3 separate regions of the Homo sapiens genome follow, and all the other regions are linked to region 1. The links are contacts of gene promoters, found by promoter capture Hi-C in human tissues and cell types (Jung and others, 2019). All regions are on one chromosome and are shown on one strand. Each heading gives the region's core, a stretch centred on a gene start or on the middle of the fragment in contact. The rest is flanking DNA. Distances are from core to core; before and after follow the strand shown.

Region 1 (2,802 bases), core at 100-2,599:
GGGGGTGGAGCCGGGGACGTACCTTCCATTTTCATTCCCTCTTTCTGTTCTATATACTTCCTAAAGCAGATTCTATTAACCAAGAACTGGGAATAAGCAAGCAAGCAAACAAACAACCTGTGATTTTGCAGAAATGACTGAAAACGGAAATTCACTTACTTCCTGTACTGCACCGGGGGCTTCGAAGTGATGAAAGGTCTAAGCAGGGTCTGTCCTCGACCCTCCCAGCACCAGACCGTCGGGTAGTACGTTTCTGTAACCACGGGACAGTGGTCTTGAAGGAAGCGGCTGAAACTCTCACCCCCGGTCACTAACTGGGGTTTCTGAAGGGAAAAGCAGTATCAGAGAAGGGCCCAGAGCAAAGTTTCTGCCAACCGTAAACCAGAAACCGGCAAAGACTTGTCGCTCGCGCGCGCGCTTCCTCCGATTACAACTCTTTCTGGAGGGCTGACGCAAAAAATTCACAGTCACAGAGGACTGAAACGGGGGTTTCGCCAATGCCCCGAGGGGAAGGCGAGAATCGCGATAAGGGAGTTTGTTTGTTTTTAACTCCGCCTCCCGGGTTCAGGGGATTCTCCTGCCTCAGCCTCCCGAGTAGCTGGGATTGCAGGCGTCCGCCACCACGCCCGGCTAATTTTTTGTAATTGTAACGGGGTTTCACCATTTTGGTCAGGCTGGTCTCGAACTCTTGACCTCAGGTGATCCACCCGCCTCGGGCTCCCAAAGTGCTGAGATTACAGGCGTGAGCCACCGTGCCCTGCCCGGAGTCATTTTCAAAAGCGCCACGGCGTTCCCGAGTGCGCCGCCGGCTTCGCGATCGGTGACCGGGCAGCGCCGCAGCGCAGAAGTCAGCCGGGTTCAGGCTGCGCTCCGAGGACCACCCGGCCGGGACCCCCAGGGGGCGGGCGAACGGGCGGGGCCTGTTGGCTTTCCCGCGCGCGCTGGGGGCTGCCGCTCGGGAGCAGCTCGCCGCCTATCCCCGGGGCTGCCGACCGCCCCTGGCCGCGCAGCCTCGCGCCGCGCCTGCTACCCTAGCTCCTGGCCCAGCAGCCCGCGGCCCTGCGCCACCCCCGGCTCACCTTGGCAATGCTGCTCAGGTAGTAGAAGGCATAAGCGACGCTGAAGCCCAGGATAAGGGATAAGCCCACCCCCGAGCCGAAGAACCCCACCCGGACTTGGTGTTCCAGGTAGAGGGAGAGCTCCCGGGACAACATCCGCAGGTCCATGGCCAGGCGCTGCATGGCCCCCGAGCGCGGCGCGCGGGTCCTGCGGCGGGAGGAGAGCCGGCTGGCGAGCGGGCGAGAGCGGGCGAGAGCGGACGCGGCGCCGCTGCCTACTCCCGACCACAGTGTCTCCTGCCTGGCGGAGCGCGGCTTCCGACAACGGGCGGGGCGGAGCGGCCCAGGGAGGCGTAGCCCGAGACTCCAACGCCGCCCGCTCCGCCCCGGCTTCCTGGAGCCGCCCCCACTGCCAGCCACTCAGGAACCTTCCAGAAGCGCGGTTCCAAGACCGGCCACCGGGAGGGCGGGCGGACTGGGTTCTCCCAGCTAGGTCGCAGTGGGCGATGGGGATCCCCAAGGGTGGGCCGAGAGCTGACGGATCGGCAGCGCTGGTTAAGGCCCCGCACCTGCAGCCCCAGTGACCTTGAACGATTCCGCTCTGCGGCGGGTGTCCCTAAACTAGCAGTTTAGGGTGTCAGGTAAGCGTGCCTTGCATTCAAAGATTTGGGGAGTTAATGCCAAAGATATGTTAGCAGGTAAGAATCCCACATCCTCTAGACGTTTGCGTTGGTCCTCAAGACTATGGAAAGAGAAAAAATATTCTATGAGCATTCAACAGTGAGGACATCATACTCGACTCTGAATCACTCTGTGAATCTTTTTAGTTGCTAAGTGTCACTTAAATGAGAAGTGGTCTCTGAAAATAAATGAAAAGGTCAAGAATAGCAACCGGGATTCAATTGTTAAAAGCCTATTTGTGGTTCATTAATGCTTTGAATTTAGAGACTTATGGAAATTCACACCGATTACCTAATGTACAGACAAGAAACCATTTATGAAGTAGGGTCTCCTAGGCTTATTTATGGCAATATGATAAATCAGGATACTTATGGTTATCTGAAATGGTTAGAATTTAATAGCCTATTCCTACTCTTATGAACTCCTTCCTCAGAGAGGTAGGAAGAATGGCAAGACTTAAACAGACGAAAGAAGGGAAAGTGCTGTCTAGATTATGAAAAATGCCAAAGGATTGTAAATTAATGATGTAATTTAGATGGGGACATGAGACGGACCAGAAGTGAGCAATTTATTTGGCTCCGATTTGGTCATTGCAACTTGGTGGTTGGCTGCAGCACCCAAAATAATTCAATTACCTTTACTGAGCCTGTTTTTTTCTTGTTTTAATAATCTGTAGCGTAACAATTTCTACTTTATAGAGTTCCCGAGAGGACAAGATAGTGTATATACTGGACTCCCCGTGAGCAGAAGTAATTTTCACGCTCTGGCTCTCACACCTGAGCACACATAGCAAACGTGAATGCATATGCTGGTTGCCATACTTGAAACTTCATAGCATTCTTCATAACCCCTGCACCAGCCTTCTGCACTACCTACCAATAAATGCATGCGTATTTCAGTTTAAGTTTGTTCTGTTTTGTTTTGTTTTGTTTTTTGAGACAGAGTTTTGCTCTTGTTGCCCAGGCTGGAGTGCAATGGCGAGATCTCGGGTCACTGCAACCTCCACCTCCCGGGTTCACGTGATTCTCCTGCCTCAGCCTCCCGAGTACCTGGGATTACAGGC
Region 2 (2,802 bases), core at 194-2,693, 83 kb before region 1:
CATCCTCTGCAAAATTTTATAAAAAGGGGAGAACGGAAATTTAGATGAAGTGAGAAGTGGATAGATTGTTCATTATATATTATCAAGGCAACTGGCTATTCAGTTGGGGAAAGTAATAAAGACAGATTTGTGCCTTACACTGCATAAAAAAGATCAATTCCAAGTAGATTAGAACTCTAAAAGTAGAAGAAAATAAGACACTATTTTTTTACAATCTTGGCATAGAAAAAACCCTTTCTTAGGTAAATTATGTATCCCAGGAGGGTGAACAAATTCAAAACATAAAAGTGAAAAAAGTTTGTGTGACTAAAGAAACCATAAACAACAAACTTGAATGACTGGCAAACCAGTAGAAAATAAAAGAAAAACTCAACCTAATTGAGAATGTCAATAATGTGAACAGGTAATTCACGGAAGAAATAGTTTTCCCATGTTAATGAAAAGATATTCAGGCAGGGCGCGGTGGCTCATGCCTGTAATCCCAGCACTTTGGGAGGCCGAGGCGGGTGGATCACGAGGTCAGAAGATCAAGGCCATCGTGGTTAACATGGTGAAACCCCGTCTCTACTAAAAAAAAAATACAAAAAATTAGCCAGGTGTGGTGGCGAGCGCCTGTAATCCCAGCTACTCGGGAGGCTGAGGCAGGAGAATGGCGTGAACCTAGGAGGCGGAGGTTGCAGTGAGCCGAGATTGTGCCACTACACTCCAGCCTGGGTGACAGAGCGAGACTCTGTGTCAAAAAAAAAAGATAAGATATTCAATCTCACAGGTAATTAAGGAAAAGCAAATTTTTTCCCCATCAAATTGACAAAAATTTGAAAGACTTATAGCAACTTGTGTTGGTGAGGGTTTGCATAATTGGGTTTGTAATGGGAAAAAATTGAACCAAAGTAATGTCCGTCAACAGGCGGTAATAAATTTTGACATTTCCATATAGTGGAATACTTTCCAGTTCTTAGAATGTTATTTTGTTATTTTGGCTTTTTGTGAGATGGAGTCTTGCCCTGTCACTCAGGCTGGGGTACAGTGGAACAATCTCACCTCACTGCAAATGCTGCCTCCCGGGTTCAAGCGATTCTCATGCCCCAGCCTTCCAAGTAGCTGGGATTACAGGCGTGCGCCACCTTGCCTCGCTAATTTATTTTTATTTTTTTTTAATTTTTTTTGAGATGGAGTCTTGCTCTGTCCCCAGGTTGGAGTGCAGTGGTGCGATCTTGGCTGACTGCAATCTCTGCCTCCCAGGTTTAAGCGATTCTCCTGCCTCAGCCTTCTGAGTAGCTAGGATTACAGGCGTACGCCATCCTGCCCAGCTAATTTTTGTGTTTTTGTAGAGATGGAGTTTCACCATGTTGGCCAGGCTGGTCTTGAATTCCTGACCTCAGATGATCCGCCCTCCTCGGCCTCCCAAAGTGCTGGGATTATAAATAGGCATGAGCCATCACGCCCAGCCTCAGTTCTTAGAATGTTTTGTATGTTGAAATGGAAATATGTCCAATATAAACTGCTAAACGAGGACTACAAGTTATAGACGTGAATAAAATATGACCCAATTTATGTCAAAAGAAATCTGTATATATCCTTCTGAATGCATATAAAGTGATCTGGAATAATATTCCTACATACCCACAGTGCAGGGGGTTAGGAAGGGAGATTTTTACTTTATAGGCATTATAATAAGCTTGTAATCTTTTTACCGACTGTAATTCTTTATTTCTTTTTTTTTTTTTGAGACGGAGTCTCGCTCTGTTGCCCAGGCTGGAGTGCAGTGGCGTGATCTCGGCTCACTGAGAGCTCTGCTTCCCAGGTTCACCCCATTCTCCTGCCTCAGCCTCCCGAGTAGCTGGGACTACAGGTGCCCGCCACCATGCCCAGCTAATTTTTTGTATTTTTTAGTAGAGACGGGGTTTCACCATGTTAGCCAGGATGATCTCGATCTCCTGACCTCGTGATCCGCCCGCCTTGGCCTCCCAAACTGCTGGAATTATAGGCGTGAGCCACCACGCCTGGCCTATTTCTTTTTCATGGTTTATAATGAGTCTAAGATCTTGTATGTCTGGATTTCAGGTTTGAGAATTAGAAACGTCCAAATGACAGTTTATGTTAGTATTGTTGTGTTCCTTCATAAAGGTTGAGGATATAATTCAGGAAAGCTGAAATTGTTATGCAGATTATTGATAGGAATTGATGCAGATAGCATCTAGCAAATTTTCAACATCGAGTTGTTTCACCCTTTCACCTTAATAAATGTGATTTTAAAGTGTTACAGGTAAAAATGGTTTTATTCCTATTTATAGATTTTTGATGAAATTGAGTCATGAAACTGTAACCATTGAATTGAAGAACGGAACACAGGTCCATGGAACAATCACAGGTACGGAGGTTGGACTGCTTTTATAACATTTTTTTTCTTCTCTTTTACCTAGCCAGAGTTTATTTTTTTATTGCTTAATGAACATTATTGTAGTACAAATCCTTATTTTTTTTGTCTGAATTATGTAATTTTTTTTTTTTTTTTTTAAACAGTTTTGCTCTGTCACCTGGGCCGGAGTGCAGTGGCACGATCTCAGCTCACTGCAACATCCGCCGCCTGGGGTCAAGCAATTCTCCTGTCTCAGCCTCCCAAGTAGCTGGGACTACAGGTGCCTGCCACCATGCCCGGGTAAATTTTTTTTTTAGACGGATTCTCACTCTGTTACCCAGGCTGGAGTGCAGTGGCACAATCTCAGGTCACTACAACCTCTGCCTCCCGGGTCCGGGTTGAAGCAATTCTCCTGCCTCAGCCTCCCAAGTAGCTGGGGTTAT
Region 3 (2,802 bases), core at 173-2,672, 78 kb after region 1:
CCAGCAATGGGATTACTGGATCATATGGTAGTTCTGTTTTTAGTTTTTTGAGGAACCTCCATACTGTTTCTCATAGTGGCTGTACTAATTTAAAGTCCCACCAACAGTCTACAGGTGTTCCCCTTTTCGTGTGTTCTTGTCAGCATCCGAAAAGCCATTTTCTTTTTTTCTCTTTTTAAAAATTTAAATTAAAAACTTTTTTTATAGTAGAGATAGGGTCTTGCCATATTGCCCAGGCTGGCGCTGAACCCCTGGCCTCAAGTGATCCTCCCACTTTGACCTCCCAAAGTGCTGGGGGCTTGAGCCACCTCGACTGGCCAGTAAAAGCAACAGTAGTTTGAGAGGATTGATATTTGTTCTTTAAATGTTTGGTAGAATCTGGCATTGAAACCATCAGGCCCTGGGGCTTTTCTCTGATGGGAGATATTTTTATTACTTCTTTGATCTTGTTACTCATTATTGGTCTGTTCAAGTTATATATATATATATATATATATATATATATATATATATATATATATATAAAATTATTATTATTATTTTTTGAGATGGGGTCTCCCTCTGTCACCCAGGCTGGAGTGGCACGATGTCAGCTCATTGCAACCTCCGTCTCCCAGGTTCAAATGATTCTCTTGCCTCAGCCTCCCAAGTAGCTGGGATTATGGGCATGTGCCACCACACCCAGCTAAATTTTGTATTTTTTAATAGAGATGGGGTTTCACCATGTTGGCCAGGCTGATCTTGAACCCCTGACCTCAAGTGATCCGCCCACCTTGGCCTCCCAAAGTGCTGAGATTACAGGTGAGCCACCGCCCCTGGCCAGGGTTGATACTTCTTCATGTCTCAATCTTGGTAGGTTGTTTATGTCCAATAATTTATCTATTTCTTCTAGATTTTTCAATTTGTTGGTATATAGATGTTCATGATATTCTGTCATGATCCTTTACATTTCTGTGGTATCATTTATGTCCCCATTTTTGTTTCTGATTTTATTTGGGTCTTCTGGTTTTATCTTAGTTGGTCTACCTAAAGATTTGTTGATTTTGTTTATCTTTTGAAAAATCCAGCTTTTCATTTTGTTGATATTTTCTCTTTTTATTGTCTCAATTTCATTTATTTCTGCTGATCTTTATTACTTCTTCCTTCTACTATTGGATTTGCTTTGTTTTTGCTTTTCTAGTTCCTTGAGCTGTATTGTTAGGTTATTTGAAATCTTCCTACTTTTTAAATTATTATTATTATTTTTTTGAGACGAAGTTTCGCTCTTGTTGCCCAGGCTGGAGTGCAATGGCGCGATCTCAGCTCACTGCAACCTCTGCCTTCTGGGTTCAAACGGTTCTCCTGCCTCAGCCTTCCCGAGTAGCTGGGATTACAGTCATGTGCCACCACGCCCAGCTAATTTTGTATTTTTAGTAGAGATGGGGTTTCTCCATGTTGGTCAGGCTGGTCTTGAACTCCTGACCTCCCGTGATCCGCCCACCTTGGCCTCCCAAAGTACTGGGATTATAGGCATGAACCACTGCATCTGGCGTTAAATTATTGATCAGGTGTTTATTGCTATAGATATCCCTCTTACTACTGCTTTTTCTGTATTTCATGGATTTTGATATGTTGTGTTTCCATTTTCATTTGTTTCAAGAAATTTTAAAATTTCCTTCTTAATTTCTTTATTGACGCTTTCATTGTTCAGGATAATGTTTAATTTCTTTCTAGTGTTATTGCATTGTGGTCAGAAAAGATACTTTATACCATTTCAACTTTTTTGAATTTAGTGAGACTTGTTTTGTGGCCCAATATGTGGTCTCTTTTGGAGAATGTTCCTCGTGCTGATGAGAACAGTGTGTATTCTATGGCAGTTGGATGAAGTATTCTGTAAGTGTCAATTATGTATATTTGGTTTGGATTGTAGTTTAACTTTGATGTTTCTTTGTTGATTTTCTCTCTAGTTGATGATCTGTTCATTACTGAAAGTTAAATGTTGAAATGTCCCCTACTGTTAAAGATATTGCAGTGTATCTTTCCCTTTAGATCTATTGATGTTTGTGTTTTATATTTGGTTGCTCCAGTGTTGAGTGCATATATAATTGTTATATCCTTTTGCTGAATTGACCACTTTATTATTATACAGTGACTTTTGTCTGTTTTTACAGTCTTTAACTTAAAGTCTATTTTATCTGATATAAAAGTATAATTATTCCTGCTCTTTTTTGGTTTCCATTTGTGTGCAATATCTTTTTCCATCCCTTCACTTTCAGTCTGCATGTGTCTTTATAGGTGAAATGAATTTCTTGTAGGGAGCACAGGGTTGGGTCATTTAAACAATTTTCTTTTACCCATTCAGCCACTCTATGCCTTTTTTTTTTTTTCTTGAGATGGAATCTTACTCTGTCGCCCAGGCTGGAGTGCAGTGGGACGATATTGGCTCACTGCAACCTCCGCCTCCCGGGTTCAAGCAATTCTCCTGTCTCAGCCTTCCGAGTAGCTGGGACTACAGGTGCCCTCCACCAAGCCCAGCTAATTTTTGTATTTTTAGTAGAGATGGGGTTTCACCATATTAGTCAGGCTGGTCTCTAACTCCTGACCTCAGGTGGTCCTCCCGCCTCAGCCTCCCAAAGTACTGGGATTACAGGTGTGAGCCGCTGTGCCCGGCCTCACTCTATGTCTTCTAGTTGGAGAATTAGTTCATTTACATTCATTGTTGTTATTGATAGGTAAAGATTTACTACTGCTATTTTTGTTACTTGTTATTTGGTTGTTTTGTAACTCGTCTCTTCCTTTTTTTTTTCTTGCCCTCTTCCTTTG

Evidence for each region. Contacts are between HindIII fragments. The study calls those that stand out against the background at their distance.
Region 2: a contact is called between a fragment that was not itself captured here and the fragment with the promoter of ABHD3 in region 1, in 2 of the 25 tissues and cell types used here (small bowel and thymus).
Region 3: a fragment that was not itself captured here is called in contact with the fragment with the promoter of ABHD3 in region 1 in 2 of the 25 tissues and cell types used here (H1 embryonic stem cells and lymphoblastoid cells).

The regions. Positions count from the first base shown.
Region 1 is chr18:21,703,425-21,706,226 of GRCh38, forward strand. ABHD3 (abhydrolase domain containing 3, phospholipase) reads right to left here and starts at 1,350. Exons shown (of 9, transcript NM_138340.5): 1 at 1,080-1,350; 2 at 160-323. The coding sequence starts at 1,241. It also overlaps a transcript of MIB1 not described here. RefSeq lists enhancers at 78-227, 1,688-1,757 and a silencer at 748-1,517. The HindIII fragment of the contact is 17,143 bases long and covers 1-2,802 here.
Region 2 is chr18:21,620,431-21,623,232 of GRCh38, forward strand. SNRPD1 (small nuclear ribonucleoprotein D1 polypeptide) reads left to right here. Exons shown (of 4, transcript NM_006938.4): 2 at 2,295-2,371. Among named protein-coding and RNA genes, the nearest start is that of SNRPD1, 9.5 kb to the left of the region's middle. The HindIII fragment of the contact is 8,700 bases long and covers 1-2,802 here.
Region 3 is chr18:21,780,892-21,783,693 of GRCh38, forward strand. All of the region lies in intron 6 of MIB1 (MIB E3 ubiquitin protein ligase 1), which reads left to right. Among named protein-coding and RNA genes, the nearest start is that of MIB1, 42 kb to the left of the region's middle. The HindIII fragment of the contact is 6,307 bases long and covers 1-2,802 here.